Regions from separate parts of the Homo sapiens genome. Here region 1 is linked to region 2. Evidence: promoter capture Hi-C in 16 types of primary human blood cells and fetal thymus (Javierre and others, 2016). All regions are on one chromosome and are shown on one strand. The core of a region is centred on a gene start or on the middle of the fragment in contact, and the rest is flanking DNA. Distances in the headings are between cores, read along the strand shown. Region 1 overlaps MTA1 (metastasis associated 1). Region 2 holds the start of CLBA1 (clathrin binding box of aftiphilin containing 1).

The links. Contacts are between HindIII fragments. The CHiCAGO score rates a contact against its expected background, and 5 or more counts as called.
Region 1: a fragment that was not itself captured here is called in contact with the fragment with the promoter of CLBA1 in region 2 in 1 of 17 cell types (neutrophils); the score reaches 5.1 in neutrophils.

Annotation. Positions count from the first base shown.
Region 1 is chr14:105,467,139-105,473,952 of GRCh38, reverse strand. It overlaps MTA1 (metastasis associated 1), which reads right to left. Exons shown (of 21, transcript NM_004689.4): 19 at 4,455-4,486; 20 at 3,961-4,112; 21 at 3,224-3,888. The coding sequence ends at 3,738. It also overlaps a transcript of CRIP2 not described here. Among named protein-coding and RNA genes, the nearest start is that of CRIP2, 4.3 kb to the left of the region's middle. RefSeq lists silencers at 1-69, 80-129 and enhancers at 158-690, 2,246-3,109. The HindIII fragment of the contact is 1,694 bases long and covers 4,356-6,049 here.
Region 2 is chr14:104,980,525-104,987,972 of GRCh38, reverse strand. CLBA1 (clathrin binding box of aftiphilin containing 1) reads right to left here and starts at 2,185. Exons shown (of 5, transcript NM_174891.4): 1 at 1,119-2,185. The coding sequence starts at 1,541. RefSeq lists a silencer at 1,927-2,396. The HindIII fragment of the contact is 10,527 bases long and covers 1-4,847 here.

The DNA.
Region 1 (6,814 bases), core at 3,953-6,452, 480 kb before region 2:
GCGTGCCCTCTGTGCCCCGGGCTGGGGCTGACACTCCAGTCCCTTCTCCCGCACCGCCCAGGACCAGCTGCGTGCCTGGGGGCCCAGGGCCTGACCTCGAGGGGTCAGGCGGGAGATTGAGGGGTCATGCCAGTCACCGCACCCCCACACCCCCACTCTGGCCTCCTCCCAACCAGGGCGTGCCTGACCACGCCTCACCACAGTGCCTCCGCCCTAGAGCCCCGTAGAGCCTGGCCCCAGGTGGGGAACCTCCGCACCCACGGGCTTCCTGGTGCTCTGTCCCCATGGGCCCTTCTCTGAGCCTTCTGGCCCCAGCTGAGCGTCGGCCTGGGAGACAGGCAGATCCCAGAAGCCCAGTGATCAGGCCCTATGGGGGCAGCTGACTCTGGACACCCTTCCCCCTGTGTCTTGGAGGCTGTGGGCTGGACACGGAGACCTACCTGTTCCCTCTGCCTGGTGCACCAGGCATGTTTGTGAGCCAACCAGAGGCCCTCGGTGCTCCTGGCTTTCATGGTGGTCCTGGCTGGGCTCTCTGTGGCAGCACCCTCCTCCCTTGCACACACACCCTGCAGCCACTGCCATTTCCATGGTGACAGCAGGCCAGAAACATGCCCCCCGCCCCCCCGCCCGACTGACCAGCCTGACCAGCTCCCCCTCTGCACTTGGGACCTGTGCCAGCCAAGGCAGAAGATGGTGAGGAGGCATCAGTCAGTACCTTTTCTGGGCAGCCCTTCCTCCCTGGCAGGCCCAGGGGTCCCTAGGGGTCCCTCACAGCAGGGCCTTGCCCAGGCTGGATTCATGGGCCCACTGCCAAACCCTCTCCAGCTCCCTGCCCTGTTCTGCCCAGCTTGGGAGCCTGGGGCTAAGCCATTACCCTCCCTGACTTTGCTACCTGTGGGGCTTGCTACCTGTGGGGCTTGCTCTGGAGGACAGGGCTGGCTGAACACAGGGCTCTTCTGGAGGGAGACCACCTGCCCCAAGGTCCCCAGCCCTGCCAGAAGAGTGGATGGGGGTAGAGGCAGGCCCCTCCCAGGGTGGCAGCAAAGGAATGGCATTCGGCACTGGCCAGGTGCCCTGGAGACACACGGAGGGTGGGGTGGGACAAGGAGTGTGCCAGCTGCTGCACTGCCCTCACCCCAGCCGCAGTCCCTGGGCAGCGGCCAGAAGCTCCCTAATGCGACGGGGCTATTCTGGGCCTGGCAGGCAGGGGTCAGGATCAATGGGTGCAGAGCAGTGGCCTTGGTCTCCACCTCTGAGGCTGCGGTGGGTCACAGGCAGGGGCAGTGACACAGTGGGACGGGCCCGAGTGGAGAGGGGGGCACAGGACACGGCGGGTGTGAAGGGAGCTGGCAGGGCTGATGGCTGGGCATGGGGCTGGGTCACACCCCTGGGCTGCAGTGGTCTGGTCCCTTCCGCCATCCTGTGACACTGGCAGATAGCAGGCCCCTGCTACTCAGCTCCACTGCAGGGAAGCCAGGCTGGGCTGAGTGGTGGACAGAGGACCCTAGCAGGGTGGAGCGGAGCTGGCAGGACAGGTCTCCAGGCATGACAGCATGATGGCCTTGCCACCCTGAGATGCCCCTGGCCCTGGGGAGCCGCGGCCCCTGTGGGGTTGCTGGTGCAGAAAGCAGGCTGCTGTCTCATCAGCAGGGAAGGGCCTAACGAGGACATAGCAAAGCTGGGAGACCCCTTCATGGCCTGGGCACCAAGGCCAATGCTCCCCCCAGCCGGTACCCACTCACTTCTAAGCCCAGGTTTAGACCCACAAGCAGCCCAGGCCCCACCCAGCACCGGTGGCCAGAGCTTGGCCCTGTGAGGGCACTGCAGCCTGGGTGTCTGGCCGGGGAGGGTGTCTGGGGTGGGAAAGGGCCCCACATCTCCTCAGGGCCTCCCTGCCCTTGGGATAGAGCCCAGGACCTAGGACACCTCACAGCCCACATGTTGACTCCAGAAAAGGACAGGCCCTGGGGGGTGGAAGAGCTGCTGAGGCCAGAACCCTGCAGCCAGCACTGGGAGGCAAGCCCGAGGCCTGGGGAAGGGAGACAAGGGAGCTGGGGTCTTCACTGAGCTCCAGACCCCCAGGGTTGGAAAAGGCCTCAGAGGGAGCTGTGTCCTTCATGAGGTCAGGGGCCTGATTTCCCAGCCGTCTGATGACGCACTACAGGCAAGTCCTCAGGCTGTGGGGTCACTCGGATGCTGGCTGCAGATTAGAGTTGGCTGGTGGGGGCTGGGGTTGGGTGGGGGGGCGCCACAGCCCAGGGAGGGTGGGTGGGACGTGCACTGCAGCCGAGTCCCTGACACCTAGTCCTGTCACTGCTGGGCCCCAGCACAGGCTCCCACGGAGGCCAGGACGCCCCCTTATCTTTGTCTCCTGGGAGACAGCAGAAGTGGTTTCTATTTTAATTCCGTGGCTGAGATTTCCACATGACAGGGCGCCTGGGTGGGCTGGGGGAGCAAAGGCACAGCTCTGGGGAGAGACAGAGGAGCTACTCTCCCTGAGCGAGGCCTGGGCGGACCCCTCCTGGCCGGCTGAGGTAGCACGGCCAGGGGGGTGGTCTGGAGCCAGGCTATCCACCGGACCCCTCCTTCTGGTGGCCCGGCCTGTACCTGTCCCCCGGCCTGCAAGTCCTGTCCCCGGCCGGAGGATGGGCCAAGCAGGATTTCTGAGAATGTGCTTGCAGAAATCTAAGCAGATTCTCACTGTGGAGACTGCACACCTGCTTGGGGGCCAGAGCTCTGGGCAGAAACCCTCAGGCGGCTGGGGCCAGGCTCTACATGGCCAGGAGGTTGGGCCTCTGGCTGGAGCACTCCAAGGCCTCGCTGGCCCAGCTGCACTGGCTGCCCTGGTGGGAAGCCACAGGGTCTTCGGCAGGGCCAGCTCTGCCTGCCGGGAGGCAGTCCCCGGCCCACCGCTGCCGCAGACACAGACGCACAGACGGTTTCAGCACAGCTCTGCTGGGGAAGGGGGTTGGGCCCTGCAACCGCTTGCTGCCCCCTGGGGAGGGCAGAGGGCACCGCGCCAGGCCCCAGCAGGGGAAGGTCTGTGGGCAGGTGGGAGAGCAACAGAGCCCAGAGGCTGGGGTGGCTGTCCTGGCTGAGGTGGCCTCCAGGGGCCTCCAGCTCCACGGCAGAGCCACAGCCTAGGGCCGCCCGATGGGGGTGGGGGGCCCAGGGCCTGAGTCAGGGAGAGGGACTGGGAACAAAAGACACAGGGAAGGACCGGTTGGTTTTTTTCCTTTTTATAAGATTTTTTTTCTTTGTTTTTGTTTAATATGAAAATTACTTGAAAAGACAAGGGCCAACCCCGCCAGGCAGCTCGGCCGGCCGCGGCCGCACGATCCTAACATTCCAGGTGTAAGTTACAGAGCTCAAGTTCATCTACAAAAAAAGTAATAAAAATAAAATTTAAAATGGCACCTTCAACAGAACACAACAAAACCTTAGGGCCCGGCCTCCGGGCAAAAGGCCCCGCAGCACAGGGGCACGGGGTGGCCCCTCATCTCCGCTCCAGCCAAAAAGTAAACACAAAGCTAAAAACGACAACTCCTCGGCATTCTCGGAATAAGTTAGCCGCGCTTCTTCCTCTCCTCCCCCAGTGTCCGCCAAGGAGCGCGTTTCTCTGCAGGTGAGGGCGGGAGGTGGGGCACTACCAAACTGAGGGGCGGGCGGCGGGCTGGCTGGGAAGGGGCCGTGTGGGCGGGCGAGGGGCGGGGGGCGGCCGCAGGTGGGGGCGGCCCCTAGTCCTCGATGACGATGGGCTCGTCGTTGACGGGCGCAGGTGGCGGTGGCCGCGGCGGCAGGGCCTGGCTCTGGCGCAGGGCGATGGGCTTGTAGGGCCGGCGGGCAGCACGCTTGGTTTCCGAGGATGAGAGCAGCTTGCGGATCTTCCTGTGGGCAGAGGTGGTGGTGAGGGCCGGGACGCTGTGCGGAGCCCTCCCGCCTGCCCTGGGAAGGCCCCACCTGGTCTCCTCTGTGGCCATGTAGAACACGTCATCCGGGGCGTCGATCCAGTTCATCCGCCGCCGCTTGACTGGGGGCAGGGAGCCCCCCCGGATCAGGCGCACTTTGGTGGGGTAGGACTTCCCGTTGAGCAGGAGGTTCCGGCTTGGTCCCTGCAGAGGGGGTGCACTTCCTGGGCAGCCAGCCAAGGGCCAGCTCCACCTCAACCTGCAGGGCTCCCGCTGGGAGGTGCTGTGCCTGGCCAACCCCCCACCACCCCAGTGAGTTACACGGACCCCCAGCCTGGCCCAGGGCAGCCCTGAGGGCTGGTCGGCCGCACACCGCTGGGCCTGGCACAGGGGCCATGGCCCCCACATGCTGCAGCCCCTCTGGTCTTGCCAGGCCTCCTGGAAGCTTCCACGTGGCACCTGGCAGGGCTGGCCAGGCCTCTTCCCAACACCCCAGAGAGCTCATGGGTGAGCGCACCGTACCCCATCATGGGTTGTTCCTCTTACCATGTGCCTGGCCTGTCCGTGGTTTGCCAGACCTGATGAGAAATGGAGGAGAGAAATGAGGCCCCGAGAGAGCGCGTCCTGCACTCCCACCGCCCACCACGGCCTCAGCCACCTTGGGACAATGGGCCGGGGCCATCTGCCAACCAAGCCACAGCCCACACCCAGGATGGGCCTGGGGGACGTGGGGCCTCGCATCCCCGGGTCCTGGGCCGCCTGGTGGCCCCACAGCTCTCTGGCCAGCAAGAGACACATTGGCTTGGGCTCCAGGCAGGAGGCCAGGAGCCTTGGACCCGACAGTCACCTCCCTGCACAGGGGCCGGGGCTGTCCACCCACTTGCCTGCCGTGCCGAGACAAGCAAAGCCTCGCAAGGCTGTCAGTCCAGCAGCGGCACAAGCCCCTCTGCAGGGCAGCCACGCTGTGGCCGGCACTGCCCCACCAGGAGGCCGGGCTTTTTCCTAAGGCTCTGAGAGAGCCGCCAGCCCCGGCCAGAAACAGGTCACCACCCACTGCCCTGGCTGGGCCCCAGCCACCCTGGCATGTGCTTGGGGATGGGGTGCCAGAGGCCTCTGACTTCCCACAGTGCAGGGTGAGGAGCCCAAGGGGCACTGCGGGAGTTGGGCCAAGAAGCGGGGTCCATGCTCCTGGTCACCCCCAGCTGGGCCCAGGACCGCCGCTGCCCTCCCCCACTCACTGCCCTTCCCCACTGCCCTGTGTGTAGGTGTGGGCGTGTGCATGTGGGAGCTGGTCCCAGGATGGCTCGGCTCCCAGCAGGACCAGCTCAGAGAGGACAGGATGTCATACTCAACTCAGTCAGGTGCCAGGGCCCAGGGGCATCGGAGCAACCTGCCAGCTCCAGAAACGCTGCTTAGCTGAGGCCCATCCCTTAAGGAACAGAAGCAGCCTGTCCAGCCCCTCCCCACCTGCAGTTGCCTCCTAACTTGGGGCACTCCCCTGGGGGCCAACTGGGGCCCTGGAGCCCTGGGTCAGCCTTTCCCTGCCAGTTTGCTTAGCTCTGCCGGGCAGGGTCAGGTGGGGGCCCAGGTGCCTGATCTGCGGCGCTCCCAAGCAGGAACAGCCATACCTCAGGGCACCTGCCACAAGCCAAGGCCCAGCGCCCAGGGCTGGCCAGTAGCACAAAAACTACTTACCCAGGTAAGTGCCTACCAGAGCGGTGGACAGCAGAGGGAAGAAACACATGCTTTAGGTTAGTGAGCCACACGCAGCCATCTGCAGGCCCCGCAGGTGGGGACAGCGCAACAGGCTGCACGGGCAAATGGCCGGGTTAGAGCGCTGGGGCCCCGTGCTGTGGGCAGGCAGGGCCCTCACTCGAGCTCAGCTCATGCCTACCCAGGCTGGACAGAGACCCCACCTCGTGTGCGCCAGTGCCCCCGGGAGCCGTCTTCACCCAGCTGGCCCCTCTCCAGCGCCCAGGTCCTGGCCGCTACACGTCAGGACAGGCGCTTCCTCTGTGGCTGACCCCTCTGAGCCCAGGGCCCCGCCCAGCCAGGCGGCAAGGGGTGATGCTCCCTCACAAGCACTGCATGGCTGGGACTCACGTGTGAGGTGTGGAAAATTCAGTGGGAACAAATAAGCTTTTATGTAACTTGCTGGTTAACCGCTTTTTACAAAACAAAACAAAAAGCTCGAAGATGCCTGCTGACAAGGACTCCCTCCTGTTTCTACCAGCTCTTATGGGGCTGTTCCTGGGACGCCCTGCCATTAGGAACAGACAAGTAAAGCCAGCCCAGAGTGGGCTGGCCCTGGGCCCAGGACTAGGCAATGGGGGCAGCCCCAATACCAGATGGCTGGGAGGGTGCCCCAGGAAAGGAGGGCTGGGGCTGGGGCCGAGACACAGACACCGCCAAGGGATGTCGGGAGGAAGCTGCAAGGACAGGCCAGGGGTGCGTGTCCAGACAGGTGGAGATGGGGGGCCCGGCACCCGATCTCAGGCCCACCCTGCGCTGCAGCCGGCGTGCTGACCCCACAGGACGTGCCTGCCAGGACACCCAGCAGCCTCGAGAGAATGCCCCAAGGGGACAGGGTTGGCTGGGCTGGGCAGCCACTACCCATATCCACCTCCAGGTCGCCAAACCGGCCCTGCTGCCCTGGCCAGCACCGTCAGTGAAAGCCGCCTGGCGAAGGGGCTCCAGGCACATCCACACTGGCAGGCCCAGCACTTGCACACCCGGGCCCCACACACCTGGCCTCCTCATGCTAGGCTTGGTCCTATCTGCTCTTCCCCAAGGGGCCTGGGGTCCCGCAGCCCCTGCTCCAAGCAACCGGCACAGAGCACCTGAGCCAGTCCTCCGACAGAAGGCACCCATGTGTACAAGCTCAGTTGCCCACGGCCCACACAGAC
Region 2 (7,448 bases), core at 936-3,435:
TCAGGATTCCAGGGAAACTGCTTCAGAAAACAGTCCGGCCGGGCATGGTGGCTCACGCCTGTAATCCCAGCACTTTGAGAGGCCGAGGCGGGCGGATCACCTGAGGTCAGGAGTTCAAGACCAGCCTGGCAAACATGGTAAAACCCAGTCTCTACTAAACATACATATATATATATATATATAAAAAGTTAGCCGGGCGTGGTGGTGGATGCCTGTAATCCCAGCTACTCAGGAGGCTAAGGCAGGAGAACTGCTTGAACCCAGGAGACAGAGGTTGCAGTGAGCCGACACAGTGCCACTGCACTCCAGCCTCAGCGACAGAGTGAGGCTGTCTCAAAAAAAAAAAAAAAAAAAAAAAAAAAAAAAGAAAAGGAAGAGAAAACAGGCCAGCCCTGAGAACTACAATATCTTTATTTCCTTCCTCACTGGTTTTATTTCTGATCTCTCATGATGGTGCTTGGGATGAACCATTTGGGAAGAAGTGGCAGAGAAAGAGGAACAATGGAAGGAAGAAGACAGGAAAAGAGAAGGAGCGGAAGTGTCACCAAACGGTAAACACCCACAGTCTGCTCTGAAAGAGAGCAGGGGGCAGGGGCCTGAAGGCTGGGACCCTGGCTCCCGGACAGGTCGGAATGGGCATCACCCAATTCATTACAAGCTCCCGGACAGGTTGGATCCCGCGTCACCCAATTCATTACAAGCAAGTTGAAATGTGATCATGTGATTTTAGAATCTCTGAGACTTTTGAACTCAGCAGATTCAGAATTCAGACAAAAAGCTCCTCCTCAAATGCCCTGAGCTGGGGCCAGTGCAGCCCCCACCAATGGGGAATGGACAGGCTGGGGGAGGAATGGTCAGAAAGAGCGACCCAGCTCAGGTGGCCCCCACCTGGCCTTCGTGTGACCCATTTCTGCAGCCTCCTCTGCCAACTCATTGCTTCCCTGGCCTCAGGATGGGACTGCCAACCACATGGCCAGGGACGAAGGCCAGGAGAGAAGCAGACGCTCTGGGGCTGTCAGCCCCCTCCCTGGCCAGCACGCCACAGCATTCGAGGGCTGTAGGCCTCTTGGTGTGTACACGTCCCACTCAACATGGTGACCACAGCACAGCAGAAATACCTCAGAAGGTGGGACGGCAGAAGTTCCTGTCACCCAAGGTCCACCCTGGCATGGTTGGTGAGAACTGCACTCTTTTGGGGCAGAAGTGGTTCTCGGTGGCTGGGGTTCTGTGGGTCCCTCGAGGAGTTCAAGGGACTGTGAGAATTGTCCAGACTTGGCTGAAGATTCCCGAAAGCCTTCAAACTCCCCCCAAGTGCTGCTGTGTTCCCCAGGGTCAGGACATCGGGCAGTGCAGGTGGAACCGCCCTCACGGGGCATGGAGATGCTGGCTTTCCCATCGGACAGGAGAAGGTCGGGGCAGGTCCGTCTCCATTCCAAACTGTCATCACTCAGCCTCTCAGGTGCCACTCGGAGGGAAGCGCTGGCTGCTTCCTCCTGGAGGTCACTCAAAGGCTCTCCCCCCAGCTCCCGCCGGCCTTGCATCTTGGAGCCCCCAGGCCAGCAGAGGCCCGATGGGCAGCTGCTCAGGAGACATGCACGCCGGGGTGCTGGCCGCCCAGGACTGCCCAACCTTCCCCTGCCCTGGAGAGGGCCAGGGGACGCTGCAGGAGTGCCCCGGGCTGCCCAGTGGCTGACGGTGGAAAGTGCCCACGTGCTGCTGTGGAACTGACACAAACCACAGGAATGGCCCGGTCGCCCGGGAGTCCTGGCTTCCTCCCACGCAGGCGGGCGCGGAGTCCGACACAGAGGCGCGTACCAGACCCACGGCAGGTGTGAGAGGGGCGGCCCAAGGTGGGGCTCCTGCTCTGGAGAGAGCCGCGAGGGGGCCTGGGAGGCCCACGCTGGCCAGAGGAGCGAGAGCCGGGCGCCCGCGGGAGTCCCAAGTGGGAAGGAGTGGGTGCGGCGCCCCGGGGCCTCCCGAGAGTCCCTCTCGCACGCGGCCCGCAGAGCAGCCCTGGAACGCCTGGGCCTGGACAGGGCCCGAGGTGGCCGGCTAAGCGCCTGGCCCACGGCTCCCGAGAGTCCCCGCACCCACCTTGGTCGCCGCCTCGGCGGGGCCGCGCGGGACCAGGGCGAGAGAAACCTGCAACCAGCCGTTCCCTCCTGCCTGCGCCGCCCCGTTGCCTGGCAACGGCGTGCGCCAGCTCCGCTTCCGGCGTCCGTCGCCGTGGCGTCAGCACGCATCCGGGGCGAGGCCAGCGCCGGCCCCCGCCGTTCAGGACCCGCCCCGGACCCGCCCTCCCTGCCCCGGGCCGCCTCCGCTGCGGGTGGGATCGGGCTTCCACACTGGCCGAGCCCTGGGCGCCGGGCCGCTCGAGCTTTCTGTCCGTGCTCAGTTCGCCGCCCGAGTGGTTCTTTCTTTTTTTTTTTTTTCTTTTTTTTTTGAGACGGAGTCTCGCTCTGTCGCCCAGGCTGGAGAGCAGTGGCGCGATCTCGACTCACTGCAAGCTCCGCCTCCCGGGTTCACGCCATTCTCCTGCCTCAGCCTCCCGAGTAGCTGGGACTACAGGCGCCCGCCACCACGCCCGGCTGATTTTTTTGTATTTTAATAGAGACTGGGTTTCACCGTGTTAGCCAGGATGGTCTCGATTTCCTGACCTCGTGATCCGCCCGCCTCGGCCTCCCAAAGTGCTGGGATTACAGGCTTGAGCCACTGGGCCTGGCCCTAGAGTGGTTCTTTCTTCCTCACGACGAGCTCCCCAGGTCCGTCCCAGCGCACCCGTCACCCGCAGCCCCTTCTCCCGGCGCCCCGCAGCCTAACTTGCCGCGCCGCCGACCCCTCTGTGGGTGCAGCTGAGCGACGGCCCCTCAGGACCCCACCTGTCCCTGGCGAGAGCCAAGTCCGTCTTGCTGACTCCTGAATCCCAAAACCTCGCCCGCCCCTAACTCGTCCCCATTCCTGGGGGAAGGAGCTGCGGGGAGGCTCCACCCCTCCCTCGCAGGCCGCATGGAGTGCTCCCCTCCTTTGTCACCAGCCAGACCCGGGCAGAGCAGGGCTGACGGACAGCCCCTCTCCAGCCACTGGACGACCAAGGAGCTAGGCTGGCCTCTGGCAGCTCCCCTCCGGGCTTCCAGGCCTTCTGCCATCTGCCCTCACCCCCAGACTCAAGGAGTCAACCTTGACTCCATCTCCTCCCTGGCCTTCCCAGACTGGCCCCCATCACTGCCTCCTCTGGGTAAGGGGAGGGCCTGGCCCTGGTGAAGCCCTGAACCATGCCACCTACTGTCCACCCCCTATCTACCTCAGGCTCGCATTTCTCCCACCCTGGGGCCTGGGGCCCTGCCTGGACTCTGTCCTTGCTTGAATCACCCCTTCCCTCCCTGGTCCTTCTCAGCCAAGCTACAGAACAATTTAATTTTACAAATGACAAGATGAGATCATTCTCTGCACCTTAGACCCAGCCTCCTGTCCCCGCTCCTTCCTGAGGGGCAGAGCAGCCGGGCCATGCAGTATGGAAGCTCTTCGGTCAGACTGCCCAGGACTGGATCTTGGCTTGGCCACCCCAGCACCGCAGTGACCCTAAGGATGGTGATCAGGAGCTGGCTGGGTTTGTAGACCAGGCCTGGGCCTGTCTTGCCAGCTTAAGGGCAGTGTCCGTTCCCACTGCTGCCCCTCATCCACTGCACGTCCTTGCCGTCCTTGAGGCCCAGGGAGCTGGGAGGGGGGCAGGAGGAGTGTTGTCCTTGTGTACAGGTGGGGAAACTGAGGCCCCACCCCAAAGGCCTGCGTGAGAAGCAGAGCTGGGACAGGAGCTGCTCTCCTCGTTCTCTGCAATTCCCCACCCCCGTCTGGGCCTCAGCTTCCACGTGAAGAGCGTGGGGAGCACAGTACTCCCAGGGTGGTTGGAGGATAGAAATGACCCATATGGGTTGAAGAGCTGGTGTGGCAGTTGAACAGCCCCACAGAGATGTCCACATCCTAACCCCTGGAACCTGTGGCTATGTGACCTTACAGGGTCAAAGACACTTTATAGATGGGCTTAAATTAAGGCTCTTGAGAGGAGGAGTGGAGCCTGGATGAGGCATGTAATCACAAAGGTCCTGAGAAGGAAGCAGGAAGGTCAGAGTCAGAGAGGAGACGCAAAGATGGAAGCAGAGCCGGAGTGATACGAGACTGCAGATGCCTCTGGAGGCTGAAGGGACCAGAAAACAGATCTCCCCTGAAGCCTCCAGAAGGCACACCATCCTGCCCACACCTAGAACTGGAGTTGATAAATGCGCACATGCTGTTTTCAACCACTGTGTCGGGGGTATTTTGTTATGGCAGCAGCAGGGAACTAATATGCCTGAGTGACCCCTTGTGACCCACTGAGAAGTGCTGCGTCGGGGAAGCCAAGGTGCAGAGGAAATGGCAGCGGCAACCTTGACATCAGGTGCCCAACCCTGGTTGCAGGAGGAGGTGGGGGCAGCCCAGGTGGCTGCTAGGCCGCTGCTGGCTTCTTGGGCCAGCTTCTGGGCAGACCATCCTGCTTCATGGCACAGCCTGAAAGGCACGAGCTGAGGATAAGGCTTCCAGGTTGGCGATTGGAGCAGGCACTGCTCAAATTGAACTGGCCCAGCTGCTAGGGGAGACTGGGCCGGAGAGGGTGGGTTCCCATTAAAGCCTGGGTGTGGGGGACATTAGCCATGACTCCCGAGGGGCATGGAGGGGGCAGGTGGAGTGTGGTCGGGACGAGGAGCCCATGTGGCCCTCCCAGGACCTCTCCAGCCACCTCGGTCCACCCTGAGCCCCAGCCCTGCTCAATGGCTGTGTGGGGAGCACCTTCCCTTCTGCAGAGGAGCCAAGCTTCCCTACCCTAGTCTCAGGAGGAAGGGGCCAGCCTGGGTTCTGGGGCAAGTGCCACCTATGCACAGAGCCCCACAGTCATCTTGGGATCTCCCAGCATCACCTGATGAGCAAGGACTGGCTGGGGAGGGGTCCCCAGAAGCACCCAGGCATCCTGGTCCTCTGGGATCCTCAGCCCCAAGTCCCTAGGGCAAGTTGGGGCGTGTGCCTGTCCTCACCTCTGGCAGCAGGAGTGCCAGGGCTTGCAGGCGGCAGCATGGGAACCTGCTGCTGCTCGGATCCCAGGCTAGCCCACACGGACTGCTGAGCCAGAGAGCCCGATGAAGACATGGGTTGAAGAAACCCATCCGAGTGGAACGATGGCAGCACCCTGACATGCCCCACCACTGCCACATTTCCTGATCCCAGCTGTGTGGGTGCAGAGGAAGTGGACCTGGGGACAATACCCAGGCCTGAAACGGGCACCCAGCTTTGGGGGAGAGTGAGGCGGTTAGAGGTCAGGAGTCAGTGTGGTCAGGCAAGAGTGGGAGGCTGGGTGGACAAGTGTCCCCCACCTGGTCAGGGGGTCCTCCCCCATCATCTCCGTATAAAAGACTGAGGAGGGGCAGGCAGTGGCTGAGACAGTCCTAGATGCTCCCACCTCACCTCACACCCCTCCATCTGGGCACGAGGCTGGGCTGGATGCAAGGCTGTGGCTGGGGCGGGGCAGGGACCACAGCAGAGCTATTTTTGCTTATGTTGCTGCAGCTGCCGCAGCAAGAATCAATCATTGATGCTGTGGGCATCCCTGCCTGCAGAGGGTGGAGGCAAGCAGCGCCAGTCAGGCCATGGGGGCAGGGCAGCGGCTCTGCTGATGATCAGGGCCTGGGGAGCCTCGGCTCCTCACCCAGGCCCCGGCACCCAGCCTCAGGAAGGCTGTGGGCAACCAGTGGGCTGGGCCAGTGTCCCCATCTCAGTGGTCCAGGGAAGAGGTGGAGGCTGTGTGCACAGGAGAGAGCATGCGATGCCCTCTCCCTGGGGTGACACCTACAGCAGGTGTGGGGCCTTGTATGTGCCAGGGGCGGCTGTGAGTTGGGCTTGTGTCCAGCGATGCTGTGGGTGGGGGCATGAATTCCTGAGCCCAGGCATGCTTCTGTGGTCCTCCCTAGCTGGGCATCTGTCCTCAGAGGGGCACATGGGGAGGAAACTGGAGCTGGGCGTGACGACAGGAGCGCAGGCTTCAGCTGGCGGGCAGGGCCCGGGATGGGGGCTGGCAGCCCCTCTCATCTTCTCCCCTGCTCCCACAGCTGTGACCCTGGACCCCTGTTTCAGCTGCTGAGGCCCTGGTGGGCGGGAGGAGGGATTCTGGCTGGCCCCTGGGGAGCCAGTCCTCAACTGCACATAGCCGCAGCCTGCCTGTTTGTGGGGGTACACTGCCCAAGTTGCAGGCCCTCCCAGAGGCATCTGGAGTGAGATAGAGCTCTCAGGACCCCAGGTTCCTTGAGGTGGGGAAGCTCTCTGGACAGACACCCCAAGGTGTCTTACTCATGACACTGTCAGCTTAACCCTCAAGCTAGGAGAAGACCCCCAGAAGGAGGGTGGGAGGGGCAGTCCCCAGCTCCCCGACAGTCACAACCAGACTGTGGCCCCAGCACTCAGGGCAGCGCAGAGCCAGAGGCCACTGCAGAGAGACACCAGCCCTCTGTCTCAGAGTGGGCAGGAGAAGGGAGGGACGGCCTCCGGGTGGAGCAGGCCCTGCCCAGACCCCATCCTGAATTCTGGGGCCACAGGGGAGCATGGCGCAGCTGCGTGTGTGTGTCTGTGCCCACCTTGGAAGTGGGCAGCCCCGTGCAGGGCAGAGGCAAAGTTCCTGGACCTGGGCAGCTGTGGTTGGTTCTGGGACCATTTCTTAGCCAGGGGAGGACAGGCCCAGTGGACACAGCTAGGGGAAGATCTCAGCCACCCCAGGCTGAGGGGCAGGACCAGGGCAAAGTCCTCCCAAGTGTGGGGTCCCCACACTCCCGTGACGCCACGCTGAACTTGCGCTCTCACTCGGCCCCCACCAAGATGGCCTGGAGGGTTCTCTCATCTTGCTGAAGGAAAACAGAGGCAGGGGCAGCAGGTAGTAGCCCAGGGACAGGGACATGTCGGGGGCAACCTCGGCTTCCCCACCCAGGGCTCCATCCTCACCCATCCCGCAAAGCCAAGGGGAGTCCCCGTAGCCCTGCGCAGATCACGCCAGACAATCAGGAGAGGGGCCACTTCATTTGGATGGGGACCCAGGAGGCCACATGACTTTGTCAAGGGCACACACCTAAAGGGGCTGAGGACACAAAGGTGGGTGAGTGCCCTGAGCGGCCCCTCGTTCCCAGGCCCTGCAGCCAGACTCAGACACAGAGGACTAGCGGGCGAAACCCCAGCAGACCAGGCAGAGGCATAGACACATCCAGGGACACACACAGAGGTGTATGCACCCAGGCACCCTAGTGGCTCTCTCCCTGTGTCCAGGGAGTGACTGACTCCAGGTGACCAGAGCAGGGTGGGCTCCTGGGGAGGGAGGTAAGTGCAGGGCCTCTGGACCCCAGGCAACACTGCTCAGCCCCGAAAAAAGGACACTGCGAGGG